3 separate regions of the Homo sapiens genome follow, and all the other regions are linked to region 3. The links are contacts of gene promoters, found by promoter capture Hi-C in human tissues and cell types (Jung and others, 2019). All regions are on one chromosome and are shown on one strand. Each heading gives the region's core, a stretch centred on a gene start or on the middle of the fragment in contact. The rest is flanking DNA. Distances are from core to core; before and after follow the strand shown.

Region 1 (5,024 bases), core at 644-3,143, 260 kb after region 3:
TGCGCAGCTGGGTGCGGTTCAGCCACAGCTCCTGCAGGCCCCCCATCTCCCCGAAGAGCACCCCCGGGAGCTCTGCCAGCGGGTTCTCGAACAGAGTCAACAGAGTCAGATTGTGCGAATGAAGAAAGAGCGCAGAGGGGAGAAACGCAAGGTGGTTTCTCGAAAGCGTCAAAGAACTGAGGTTTGGGAGCCGGTCGAAGGCCCCGGGTGCGATGGAACGGATGTGATTTCGGTGGAACTGCAGCTCCGTCAGGGCGCCCAGGCTGTTCAACAGCCCCGAATCCAGAGACACAAGGCGGTTCGAGTGGAGCAGAAGTCTCTCGAGCTTAGCCTGTGCTCCAAGCAACCCCTTGGGCAGGTGGGTCAGGTTGTTTCCCGATAAATCCAACAACTTCAGGTTCTCCAGATTCGTGAAGAGACTGGCAGGAAGGAAATCGAGCTGATTCTGGTTCAGAGCGAGCTCCTGCAGGTTAACCAGTTTCTGAAACATGTTTTGGTCAATGCCCCTTAGCGCATTGTGGTCCAAAAACAACTGCTCCAGGAGCACCATCTTATCCAGCAGCGCACCTGGAAGATGCGTGATTTTGTTGCGCGACAGCCTCAGGGTTTTCAGTTTTATCAGGTCACTGAAGGTGCCGGGGGCAACGGCGGAAATGTGGCTGTCGGAGATCATGAGGCGCTGCAGGACGGTCATGCCGCTGAAGCTCTGGCTCTGCAGGACGCCGCGGCCCATTCCGAAGAGCAGGATGTGCGTGAGGTTGGTGGGCAGGCCTAGCGCGGAGATGCGCGCCACGTCGCCCCCCGAGCACTGCGCGGCGTCCCGGAAGACACACTTGCAAGCTGGCGGACAGGGGAAGGGCTGGGCGCGCAGAAGCCCGAGCACCGCGCACAGTAGAGTCCCCCTCAGCATGTCTGAAAAAGCAACCGTGGGAGTGTGGTCAACACACAGGAGCGTTCGCGCCTGTACTGAACCCTGGGATCCTGCACTTTGTGCAGAGGCACAATCCTTTCGCCAGAATTCTCACTCCCTCTTTTCTTAGGACTACAGATTTCCCTACGTGGTGAAAAGACACTCATTCTACACTGCGTGGCCTCATGCTTTTGCTTTATTGATTTTCCACTCTCAGTTTAAAGCATTGAGATTACAGAGTTTTCAAGCTACCGAATAGCCAATACTTTAAAGTCCTTACATAGAGAATTAAAATAATCATTCTCACATTCAAGCTCACAGACATCACAAAGCAATGTCCATTGTGAAAACGGCTCTGCTCTTGACTTTATAACTTACCCTGCATTGGCTATAACCAACAGTCAAGAAGGGAACAGCAAAGTCTGCAGCCACCACCATCTGATTCTTTTGCTCACAATCATGCTATTTCCACAGTACCAAGTTACTCTATTAAAGGACACCCCCAAAACAGCGAACACCTTCAATCAACAGCCAACAAAAGCATATAATAATACCTATCACTTTACGCCATGCATTGTTCTCAGCTCTTTATTTATACTACATGCATTTAATCCTTACAATAACCTTAGGAGGTAAGTATATTATCCCCGATTCAAGGATGAAGGCACAGAGGCACAGAAAGGCTCAACAGTATAACTAGGGTCACATAGAATTTGAGGGTAGTATTTCTGACTTAGCCATAAAGAGCTACTATTTCTAAGATGCTTAACTAAAGGTAATACTCACGGCACTGAATTTTCTGGGAAATGCACACCATACTACTAACCTGCCAAAACAATGTTTCCTAAGCGAAATTTTACATAAATTGCTTCTCGTGCAATTTTACTTCTCATGCACACACAGACTAAAGAGCCCTCTAATTTCCTATACTAATGTTTAAAATATTTGGCCTTACCTGAAATGGTTCTGCACTCCAAAGTAACTGAAAGACTTAGAGCTCTGCATGTGATTCGACACTTTCCACAGGAAGAGGGTGGTATCCTTGCATCCTGAGGATAAAGACTTTACCAGAGTAGGTCAGGAAAGGACCCTATCTCAGAGCCCTTGTTCTGGTTTTTAATGACAAATATCTTCAAACCGAGAGACCATATATAACCTGATTCCTACTGTCAAAGCCAAGAGCAGTGGGGAGAGTTTTTCCATAAATGGCACAATATAACTCTATGATGCCAGGGAAGTTCAGTGATACAGCTGGATCACTGCAGTAGCCACACCCCTAGATGGGCCACACTTCCCCTGGGTCTTCCTTTTCATGCCACATGGCCCTAATTTCCCACCCAGGTTTTTTTTTTTTTTTTTTTTTTTTTTTTTTTTTTTTTTGGTATGTGTTGTTTTTCTTTCTCCGCTTAGCAATAAAGCTAAGAACATTCTCAAATCCTCCATTTTTTTCTTCCTTTTGGGACTAATAAGGCTAAGAACATCTTTGAACTTGTTCAACAATGGCATTGCTAGGTTGCAGGATGCTCACTTGTTGTTTTTTTGGTGGGGGAGGGGGACTCTGTCGCCCAGGCTGGGGTGCAGTGGTGCGATCTCGGCTCACTGCAACCTCCTGCTCCCTGGTTCAAGCAATTCTCCTGCCTCGGCCTCACAAGTAGCTGGGATTACAGGCACACACCATCACGCCCAGCTAATTTTTTGTATTTTAGTAGAGACGGGGTTTTACCGTGTTGCCCTGGCTGGTCTTGAACTCCTGAGCTCAGGCAATCCGCCCGCCTCGGCCTCCCAAACTGCTGGGATTACAGGCATGAGCCACCACGCCCGGCCGCTCACATGTTCAGTTTAACTGGGGAAAGTCAAACTGCTCTCCAAAGTGGTTGTGTTGGTCTACGATGACACCTGCCATTTGTGAGAGTTCCTGTGCTTCCTCTCTGCCCACACGTGGCACTTCCTGCTTTTTGCCATTTCTATGAAAGATATCTCAGCATGATTTTAACTTTTCCTTTCCCTGTTTAATGATGAACTTGAACACCTTTTCACATAATTAAGGCCCACTTGTGCTTCATTTGAGAAAGCTGGGTTTCCTTTTGCCCATTTGTCTATAGGCAAAACGTGTCTACGTGTCTTTTGAACACACTGATAATGCTGTCTGCATTAAGACTTCCGGCCAGCCGCCCTGTCCGGGAGGGAGGTGGGGGGGTCAGCCCCCCGCCCGGCCGGCCGCCCCATCCGGGAGGTGAGGGGCGCCTCTGCCCGGCCGCCCCTACTGGGAAGTGAGGACCCCTCTGCCCGGCCAGCCGCCCCATCCGGGAGGTGGGGGGCGCTTCTGCCCGGCCGCCCCTACTGGGAAGTGAGGAGCCCCTCTGCCCGGCCACGACCCCGTCTGGGAGGTGTGCCTAGCGGCTCATTGGGGATGGGCCATGATGACAATGGCAGTTTTGTGGAATAGAAAGGCGGGAAGGGTGGGGAAAAAATTGAGAAATCGGATGGTTGCCGGGTCTGTGTGGATAGAAGTAGACATGGGAGACTTTTCATTTTGTTCTGTACTAAGAAAAATTCTTCTGCCTTGGGATCCTGTTGATCTGTGACCTTATCCCCAACCCTGTGCTCTCTGAAACATGTGCTGTGTCCACTCAGGGTTAAATGGATTAAGGGCGGTGCAAGATGTGCTTTGTTAAACAGATGCTTGAAGGCAGCATGCTCGTTAAGAGTCATCACCACTCCCTAATCTCAAGTACCCAGGGACACAAACACTGCGGAAGGCCGCAGGGTCCTCTGCCTAGGAAAACCAGAGACCTTTGTTCACTTGTTTATCTGCTGACCTTCCCTCCACTGTTGTCCTATGACCCTGCCAAATCCCCCTCTGCGAGAAACACCCAAGAATGATCAATAAAAAAAAAAAAAAAAAAAAAAAAGACTTCTATCCTTCAAGACACCATAAAAAAGGGGAAAAGATAAACCACAAACTAAAGATATTTGTAACACCTATAGCTGACAAAGGCTTAATGTCAGAAGATATAAAGAATCATGGGATCCAATCCCCTTTGATGCAGCCTAATGCAGTCAGAGCCCAGTAAAGGCTGGGTTGACTGAAATTACCTTCAAAGTCACGCAGCCCTGGACCACAGGGAAGAGCCACTGCCTCTGCCAGGTATCGCGGGAGGTCTTTCAGTTCCGATCAAGGAATGCAACTCCAGAGCCCTGAACTGCTACACTGGTGACCTGGTAAGTCCGTCATGCATAGGCACATCGAGTGAAAGCCTCCCCGCCCCCTTGCCCATGAAATTGCCAGGGAGCCAACATGACAGACTGGGAAGGCGAGCTGTGAAACAGAGTAAGATGCCGATGGCTCAAATTCCTGTGGCCCTTCTTTAGCCTATTTCCCCAGGAAAACCTCCAGTCAGAATGGCCTCTACATTTTGTCCCTTAGGAAGACACTTTGATTGTCCAGGAAGGGAAAAGTAGGTATGGCAGTTGCAGAGTGGGGGAACACTCTTAGTCCATCCACTGAGCAAGTTGATGAGGTAATGAGAAGTATTTGGAGCAAGGAAGTTGACAGCTCCAGTGCTTCCAAGTCTTAAGATTCTGTATCCATTACCAGGTCAGAAGTCTGCTGTAAAACAGTTACCTGGCTTAAGGGGCTTGGCTATTCAAAAGCAGGTCTGTGCCTGGGTGAGATAAGCCTTTTTCCTCTGAGGGAGACTCAGTGGGCCGGGCACAGCAGGGAGCAACCACACCCCAACTTGGACCACGGACAGTCTCACTCAAGCCCCTAGGACTCCCTGTCCCTTGGCAGTGATACAGCGGAAGGAGAGACATGCAGAACTGTGCCCACACCAGCAGGCTGTGGGGACAGGATCACACATGCCGCACAAACCATAGCGACTGTTAAGAACTTGAGCTAAAGGCAGGCAGGCCCTCACCCCCCGAATTCATCACACCACAGCCAGCCACATATTCCCTAGCAGGGGCTCCGTGTCTCCCGGAGCTGAGCTCCATGGAAACAACTCCCACCCACACACAAAGGTCCTGTCTTCTCTGGGATTTTTACAACCATTTTCTCTCTCCATGGTATTAGCTTTTGGTTTGATTCTCCCAACTATTAATAGATTATAAG
Region 2 (4,506 bases), core at 33-2,532, 280 kb after region 3:
CCAGCTACTCAAAAGGCTGAGCCACGAGAATCACTTGAGCCTGGGAAGTGGAGGCTGCAGTGAGCCGAGATCCTGCCACTGTACTCCAGCGTGGGTGACAGAAGAACCTGCCTTAAAAAAAAAAAAAAAGAGGTACCAATCTAATAACGAAGTACTGGTCAAAACTCAATTATAAAGACAACTTCATAAAAAAAGATGAAGTTAAGAAAAAACAATCTAAGTGTTCACTTTAAAATCTGATTAATTTCTAAGGCCTAAAAAATGGGATAGTTGTAAAGACAGAAAGGTTTATAATAAGAAAACTGAAAGAATCTAACAAATGGCTGGCTACGGAAAGAGGAAGAAAAGGCACAGATAAATAGACACACACGCATGTACACAAGCATGCACACTTCTGACTTGAATAAATAGTGGTACCAAGAAACAGAGAAGAAAAAGGGTTGAAGGAGAACATGATGAGCTTAGTTCTTAAAATGTTTAAATTGAGGGATCTGTTGGGTGGAACACCCAAGTAACAGTCAATATATCAGTGTATTTGCAGGTCTAAAGCTTAGTAGTGAGGTAGGCTCAGGGTATAAAGGTTGGGAGCCTTTAACATATAGATGGTGATTACAGGTGAAGCCATGACTCTAGGGGATATCACCAGAATGTATTGAGTGACCAGAGGAATAAGAACAGAAATGTAAGGAACCCTAACATTTAAGGAATGGGCAGAGGGAGTGGAGCCAAAGTGGAAAATGAGACTGGAGAGTCAGAGCTAAGAAAAGGCCAAAAGACAGCAAAGCATCACAAAATTTCAGAAGAGAGTATCTTAAGAATGATGACATGGCTAACTCGTCAAATACTGCTGGGGAGTCAAGTAAGACTGGAAAAAAATACATTAGGGAGAAAAGTCCATTGGACTTAACAAGTAAGAGGCTAACGGCCTTGCTGAGGGCCGTTTCAGTAGATTGGCAGGGGAAGATGCCAGATTAGTTGACGAACGTGTGGGAGGTGAGCTGAATGTGGTACTATTTCAAGAAAAAGTTGGTTGTGAAACAGAAGACATGTGCACCAGGAGAGAAATATAATGCATTTTGTTTTCTTCTTTTACTGTAAGTGCTTATCTAAACCCCTCAATGAAATATGCAGGGAAACAGACATATACTGCTGGTAAGACTACAACCTGGAACATCTTCAAAGTTCAATAATGCAGAATTTATGAAAATTAAATTTATAGATACCCTCAGACCAAGCAATTCCACTTTTGCATATTTAGCCTATAAATATATATTTGTCTGTAACTGAAGTGTGCAAGGATTTACAATACCACATTCTTTTTTTTTTTTTTTTTTTTTTTTTTGAGACGGAGTCTCGCCCTGTCGCCCAGCCTGGAGTGCAGTGGTGTGATCTTGGCTCACTGCAAGCTCCGCCTCCCGGGTTCACACCATTCTCCTTACAATACCACATTGTTTCTAATAGCAAAACACTGGAACCAACCTAAATATCCAGCAAAACAGGACTAAACAAATTACTAAAAAGTCCCTGCAATGGAATACTCATTTCACAAACTTTGTAAGTTTAAGTTATATAACTTTAAGATCAAACCTGTCCGTAACATACAAGAAAAGAAAATTAAATCTGATCTCATTCATGCAGAGGCAAAAATCCAAAACAAAATCATAGCAACCTAAATCCAAATTTCAAAGAGTGTGCATCATGACCAAACTGAATTTATTCTAGAAATGCAAAGTTAGTTCAATATTTGAATACTGATCAGCTATAATTCATCACATTCTTCAGGGAGAAAAACTGTGTGACCATTTCAATAGCTGCAGAAAAAGCATTAGATTGGCTGGGCACAGTGGCTCACACCTGCAATCCCAGCACTTTGGGAGGCCACGGTGGGTGGATCGTGAGGTCAGGAGTTCGATACCAGTCTGGCCAGATGGTGAAATCCCATCTCTACTAAGAACACAAAAACTTAGCCAGGCATGGTGGCACACGCCTGTAATCCCAGCTACTTGGGAGGCTGAGGCAGGAGAATTGCTTGAACCCGGGAGGTGGAGGTTGCAGTGAGCCGAGATCATGCCACTGCACTCCAGCCTGGGCGACAGAGCGAGACTCCATCTCAAAAAAAAAAGCATTAGATAAAAATTTAAAACCACTTATGTTAACAACACTGTACAACTAAGGAAGCTTCCTTAACCTGATAAAGACTATACACTAGAAATATACAGCAAACAGTTTATCTAATGGTGAACTATTAGGAACACGTCCTTTAGAGACAAGAGTAAGACAAGGATATCACTATCACTATAACTAATATATTAAGACATGAAAAATACAGAAAAAGCACATAAAGACTGTGAAATGTCAGAAACAAACTGCTGGGGAGTCAAGTAAGTAATTACAGCTTGTAATTACTTATATATGATGCCTGTCTAAACAGAAAATCCTAGACAATCTAAAATGTGTCTGAATAAAGTCTGATAAGGCTTCTGGGAACAAGATGAATATCTAAAACAACTGTATTGAGTTCAACAACATAAAAAATTAGAAAATGTCATTTTAATTATAATTTATCAAGGGATCAAAAACTGTTATTACTCTAAGAATCTAACAAAAAATGTACAAAAACCATTAGGGAGAAAACTATCTGACTTACTGAAAGACATTAGGTCAAAAAGACAGAAACAGAACGAGATACTGTTTGTGGGAAGGAAAACTAATGAATTCACCCTCAAAATTTATTGATCAACTCTGTGTAATTCTAATAGTTCCGAAAGGGCTTTTCCTGGTATTTGACAAACTAAACTTAAAAGTTAAGAAGAAAAGCTTAGCTGGGCACAGTGGCTCACCAAGGCAGGGAGCTCACCCGAGGTCAAGAGTTCAAGACAAGCCTGGCCAACATGGTGAAAACCCATCTCTACTAAGAATAGAAAAAATTAGAGCCAGGCGTTGTGGCAGGTGCCAGCTACTCGTGAGGCCGAGGCAGGAGAATCGCTTGAATCCGAGAGACAAAGCTTGCAGTGGGCTGCACTCCAGCCTGGGTACCAGAGCCAGATTCTGACACACACACACACACACACACACACACACACACACACACACACACACAAAAGGAGGAAGAAGGAAAGCTCAAGCACAGCCAAAAAGGTCATGATGAACAACAATGTGAGAGGGGGGTAGGAGTCCTACCCAAGCATGTATCAAGGTTTCTTATAAAGTCATGGTAGCATGGACAATATAGTACTGGCACAAATAAAGAGAACTAAACAACAAAATATGGAGTCCCTAAAACACTATTAGTCATATATATGGAAAACTGTGGCCAGGCGCCATGGCTCATGCCTGTAATCTTAATACTTTCGGAGGCTGAGGCAGGAGGATCACTTGAGCCCAGGAGTTGGGGGTCAGACTGGGCAACACAGTGAAACCCCATTACAAACCCCATTTATAATTTTTATTACAAAAAATTTTAAAATTTGCTGGGTGTGGTGGTGCACAACTGTGGTCCCAGCTACTCAGGAGGCTGTGGTGGGAGGACCACTTGAGCCCAGGAGGTCGAGGCCACAGTGAGCTGAGATCATACCACTGCACTGCAGCGTGGGTGACAGACAGACGGACGGACGGAAGGAAGGAAGGAAGGAAGGAAGGAAGGGAGGGAGGGAGGGAGGGAGGAGAGGGGAGGCGGGGGAGGAAGGAAAGAAGGAATGAAGGAAGGAAGGAAGGAAACTGATATAAGACAAAGGTATCACTGAATATCAGTGGCAAAGACAAACTTCAATAAGCAATTGCTGAAACAAATGGGTATGCGTAAGAGAAAAAAAGAAAAAGAAATTTGATCCCTATTCAAAAGCTATACATAAAATTAATTCCAGATGGATTAAAGACTAAATGTGAGAGTATCTTTATAACTTTGAGATGGACAAGTCCGCCAAACTGAGACACGAGGAACAAATAAAGAAAGAAATTAATAAATTTGCCATGTCAGACTATAAGTTTGTTTTTTAAAAAGAGATATTATAAACAAAGTAAAAAGACAAGCCACAAACTGGGAGAAGATATTTATCACTATACAGTCAAATATAATACATTAAGAACTCTGAAAACTAAGTTTTAAAAAAAAGACAACATCCTAAAAATTTTTAAAAAAGACAACATCCTAGAAAAAATTGGCCAAAGGCATGAATAGGCAGTTCACAGAGAAAATAAAAATGGCCATTAAACACATGAAAAAATGCTCAACTCCATTAGTAAAGTTAATGAGCAAAGTAAAACCATCATGATATAACATTTTACACCCACTGGACAAGACCAAGTGTTGGCAATGATGTGAAACAACAGGATGTCAAACACTGATGGATGATTGATACAATCACTTTGGAAAACAACTTGGCACGTGGTAGCTGAAGAGTACATGCTCATCATGATACCAGAATACAGCAGAGGAAACTTTTGTCCCTAATGGTTTGCCAAGGGTAGTAGTGGAAGGAGTATATTACCACTGGAAGTGTCTGGAAT
Region 3 (4,497 bases), core at 672-3,171:
AGGGAGGCCGCCGCCAGAGCCCTGGCGCTCCCGGCCCGGCGCCCGCCACGTGGCACCCGGCGGCGGCGGCGGCGACTCCTCCCGGCGCGCGGCCCGGCCAGCAGGCAGCACGCAGCCGCCCGCGCCGCCCGCCTCCTCCCGGGCGCCCGCCGGCGGCCTCCCGGGCGTAGTGAGGGGGAGCGGCCCGGCCGCCCGGGACCCGGGGAAGGGGCGGGCGGCGCGAAGCCGCTTTAACCGCAGTCGCCGAGCGGAGGCAGGAGGCTGACCCGGCCGCTTCCTAAGTGCGGTCAGGCATCCCGTGACCGCGGCGGGCGCCCAGGGCCCCGCGGGGAGAGGGCGGGGGCGAGGAGCAAACTTGGAGGCCCCCACCTCGCCCCCGGGCTGTTGCGAATGCGGCTTTCGGCCGAGTGAAAACCCCAAGCCCGAAAGTGAGGGTGGGGAGGCGGGGGTTGGAAGAATTCCCCACTCTCCACCCCGGGTGTGCGCTCCCCGCCGGGAAGAGCTGACCTTGGCCTGGGGAGGCGGGGGTGGGGAGAGAGGGTAAGCGCCGGGGCTCGGCTCCCAGCCCGCCGCCCCCTCGGATTCCTGGCCCGGCGGGGCCGGAGGAGGGGGCCCCGGACACACACACACACACACCCCCCACACGCAGCGCGCGCCAATGAGCCCGGGCCAGGCGCAGGGGGCGGGGTTTTCCCAGGCTCGAGCACAGCAGCTGCTATTTACCTTCTTGGCTTCTCCCGGGGACCAGGAACCGGCCCCCGCTCTCCGCCGCCCGTCGCCGCCCCCCGCCTCCCTGCCCCCGGGGCGCGCGCACACACACTCACTCACACACGCACGCACACACACATCCTCCCGGCCCGGCCGCAGCCGCGGCGGCAATAAAACATCCTGGCACGTGCTCCGGCTCCAGGCGCGCCCACGCCGGCCGGCTGATGTCAAACTGCAGCTCGGCTGGTGTAGCTCTTAAAGGGCCCGCGGGCGCCGGGGGCCGAGGCCGCCCGCGGGGCGAGGAGGGAGAGGCTGCTTCCTTGCCCGCCACCTCAACGCGCCGCAGAACCTAAAGCCTACGGATGAAAAGGGAAAGGGTGGTGAAGGAGGGCGCGAGTCCCTGAGTCATTGCCCTCGGAGCCCCCCTTGTTCATTTTTTCATTTGAAATACCGTTTCCTTCCACCCAGTTGGAAATTATTCTGATTGTTTCCTGGGGAAGCCCGGGGTCTAAGGCCCCAAATCCAAACGAGGAATTTCTGAAAGACGGGGTGGGGGTGGGATTCAAGAACTACCTTGCTCCGAAAAACCTGCATTTGTGAGGTAGAAGGCAATTTTTCCTTTTTCTGCATGGAAACAGGAAAATTTTTTTGGCCCTTTTCCTTTACCATCTACTTTCACCCTCCTGAATGTAAAGTCTGAGCGGGAACTTTAGATGTGTCGGTAACTCACATTCTTACACCCGTCCCCCCCTCCCCCCGCCCCCTTTTAACCACTGCTGTTTTTTTCTTTATTGTTTATACCTTTAAAAAAAATATGTTTCAAATGAACTTACTACAGTCAAAGCAGCTCTGTTACATATGAGAGAGGGCATAAAGAGCAAAGACCCTGGCTCCAAAAGAAATAGACAAGATCAAGACCAAAGCGGAAAGAAAAAAAAAATCTCTAAACCAAAGCCCAGAGGGAGAGTAGCAAAGGGTTAAAATCCTTTTGATTGACGTTGTAGCCTCCGGTGCCCTGGGCTCAGGCGCGCGCCATTGGCCGCCAGACCTTGTGCCTGGCGGCCAATGGGGGGGCGCGGTCCACGAGCGGTGCCGCGTGTCTCCTCCTCCCATTGGCTGAAAGTTACTGTGGGAAAGAAAGTTTGGGAAGTTTCACACGAGCCGTTCGCGTGCAGTCCCAGATATATATAGAGGCCGCCAGGGCCTAGGGATCACACAGGATCCGGAGCTGGTGCTGATAACAGCGGAATCCCCCGTCTACCTCTCTCCTTGGTCCTGGAACAGCGCTACTGATCACCAAGTAGCCACAAAATATAATAAACCCTCAGCACTTGCTCAGTAGTTTTGTGAAAGTCTCAAGTAAAAGAGACACAAACAAAAAATTCTTTTTCGTGAAGAACTCCAAAAATAAAATTCTCTAGAGATAAAAAAAAAAAAAAAAGGAAAATGCCAGCTGATATAATGGAGAAAAATTCCTCGTCCCCGGTGGCTGCTACCCCAGCCAGTGTCAACACGACACCGGATAAACCAAAGACAGCATCTGAGCACAGAAAGGTAAGGGCGGTACCTGTATCTCTTTGCAGCCCCTCAAAATTAAGTAGGGGTTGGGGGGCTTCTTTCTGTCTTGAAACCCCGGGATGGCAGATTCCATGGGAACACAGAACTCTTTTTTTTATTTGCAGTCATCAAAGCCTATTATGGAGAAAAGACGAAGAGCAAGAATAAATGAAAGTCTGAGCCAGCTGAAAACACTGATTTTGGATGCTCTGAAGAAAGATGTAAGTGGGGAAATGCTGCTCGCTCTTTTAATTAAAAAACAAACACTTTCTCAGCTACTAAGAGTGAAACCCCCCGCCCTGCGGGGTCTGGCACTCGCTGGTACTGCGTTCTCCCAGGCGGGAGGGCCCGGCCTTATTCGCTGGGGTCCAGAGATAATGCTTGCGCTCCGTGGCCGGGAGGAGGGACCCCCAGCACTCTGAAGCAGCTGACACGGGGCTCACTTTCCTTTCTTGCCTACTCTATGCAGAGCTCGCGGCATTCCAAGCTGGAGAAGGCGGACATTCTGGAAATGACAGTGAAGCACCTCCGGAACCTGCAGCGGGCGCAGATGACGGGTGAGGGCGGCTCGCCGCGTCCCCCTGTGCGGGCGTCCCGCTCGCCTCGCGGTGATTTCTTCCAGACTTCCGCCCGTGGTTGTGAGAGGCATTCAGCTACATTTTACTGCCTTGGCTCACTCTTGCGTTCCCACGGTCTGGGGCTTATTTATAGCCACAACTCCAAGTTGTTACTGTTCCGGAAAGGGAGGGAAAGAGGTTGCAGCCGCGAGGGTGGCGGGCGCCGGGTAGGGGCGAAAGGACTTAGGACTGTGGCGGTTTGGAACTGCGTGGAGCCTGGGGGTCACTGGTTTAGCACTCCTTCCCGTTGCAGAAGGGGAAATGAGGCTTGGATGATGGATTGGGAGGCATTGTCCAAGGTCACATCGCGCGCGGGGGTGGGGGTGACAGATCTGGGGCTGAGATAGGTTTAAATGCAGCTACAGGGAATCGGGAAGGAGTGGCTCGGCTTTTGGCAGCAACGCTAGTGTGGAGAGGTGGCTGGTTTTTTCTAAACCCATCTCACCCTCCCTGCCGGAGGCAGTTTCACGGGCGCATGGTCAGGGAGGCGCGCCACAGGGACCTCCCAGGGCGGAGGCAGTGGCCACGGGGCCAGGGCCGTTCGGTGACCCGTCTGTCTCTTTCTGGCCCGCAGCTGCGCTGAGCACAGACCCAAGTGTGCTGGGGAAGTACCGAGCCGGCTTCAGCGAGTGCATGAACGAGGTGACCCGCTTCCTGTCCACGTGCGAGGGCGTTAATACCGAGGTGCGCACTCGGCTGCTCGGCCACCTGGCCAACTGCATGACCCAGATCAATGCCATGACCTACCCCGGGCAGCCGCACCCCGCCTTGCAGGCGCCGCCACCGCCCCCACCGGGACCCGGCGGCCCCCAGCACGCGCCGTTCGCGCCGCCGCCGCCACTCGTGCCCATCCCCGGGGGCGCGGCGCCCCCTCCCGGCGGCGCCCCCTGCAAGCTGGGCAGCCAGGCTGGAGAGGCGGCTAAGGTGTTTGGAGGCTTCCAGGTGGTACCGGCTCCCGATGGCCAGTTTGCTTTCCTCATTCCCAACGGGGCCTTCGCGCACAGCGGCCCTGTCATCCCCGTCTACACCAGCAACAGCGGCACCTCCGTGGGCCCCAACGCAGTGTCACCTTCCAGCGGCCCCTCGCTTACGGCGGACTCCATGTGGAGGCCGTGGCGGAACTGAGGGGGCTCAGGCCACCCCTCCTCCTAAACTCCCCAACCCACCTCTCTTCCCTCCGGACTCTAAACAGGAACTTGAATACTGGGAGAGAAGAGGACTTTTTTGATTAAGTGGTTACTTTGTGTTTTTTTAATTTCTAAGAAGTTACTTTTTGTAGAGAGAGCTGTATTAAGTGACTGACCATGCACTATATTTGTATATATTTTATATGTTCATATTGGATTGCGCCTTTGTATTATAAAAGCTCAGATGACATTTCGTTTTTTACACGAGATTTCTTTTTTATGTGATGCCAAAGATGTTTGAAAATGCTCTTAAAATATCTTCCTTTGGGGAAGTTTATTTGAGAAAATATAATAAAAGAAAAAAGTAAAGGCTTTTATGTCTTCGAACTGATTCTTCCAGAATATGTAAAAAGGCTTTTGGTGGAATTTGAATTACATGTAATTGGTAATTCAGGAATTGACTCTTTTGTTATTAAAAGAACATTTGT

Evidence for each region. Contacts are between HindIII fragments. The study calls those that stand out against the background at their distance.
Region 1: a contact is called between the fragment with the promoter of GP5 here and the fragment with the promoter of HES1 in region 3, in 3 of the 25 tissues and cell types used here (bladder, liver and ovary).
Region 2: a fragment that was not itself captured here is called in contact with the fragment with the promoter of HES1 in region 3 in 1 of the 25 tissues and cell types used here (mesenchymal stem cells).

The regions. Positions count from the first base shown.
Region 1 is chr3:194,397,373-194,402,396 of GRCh38, forward strand. It overlaps GP5 (glycoprotein V platelet), which reads right to left and starts at 1,894. Exons shown (of 2, transcript NM_004488.2): 1 at 1,866-1,894; 2 at 1-912. The coding sequence starts at 910. RefSeq lists enhancers at 2,724-3,277, 3,278-3,830. The HindIII fragment of the contact is 10,737 bases long and covers 1-5,024 here.
Region 2 is chr3:194,414,346-194,418,851 of GRCh38, forward strand. The region is part of intron 31 of ATP13A3 (ATPase 13A3); the gene reads right to left. Among named protein-coding and RNA genes, the nearest start is that of GP5, 17 kb to the left of the region's middle. The HindIII fragment of the contact is 3,257 bases long and covers 1-2,911 here.
Region 3 is chr3:194,134,227-194,138,723 of GRCh38, forward strand. It overlaps HES1 (hes family bHLH transcription factor 1), which reads left to right and starts at 1,922. Exons shown (of 4, transcript NM_005524.4): 1 at 1,922-2,262; 2 at 2,391-2,486; 3 at 2,735-2,822; 4 at 3,457-4,497. The coding sequence starts at 2,155. The coding sequence ends at 4,007. RefSeq lists silencers at 1-279, 350-889, 3,616-3,815 and enhancers at 1,880-3,079, 1,889-2,048, 3,846-4,035. The HindIII fragment of the contact is 11,881 bases long and covers 1-4,497 here.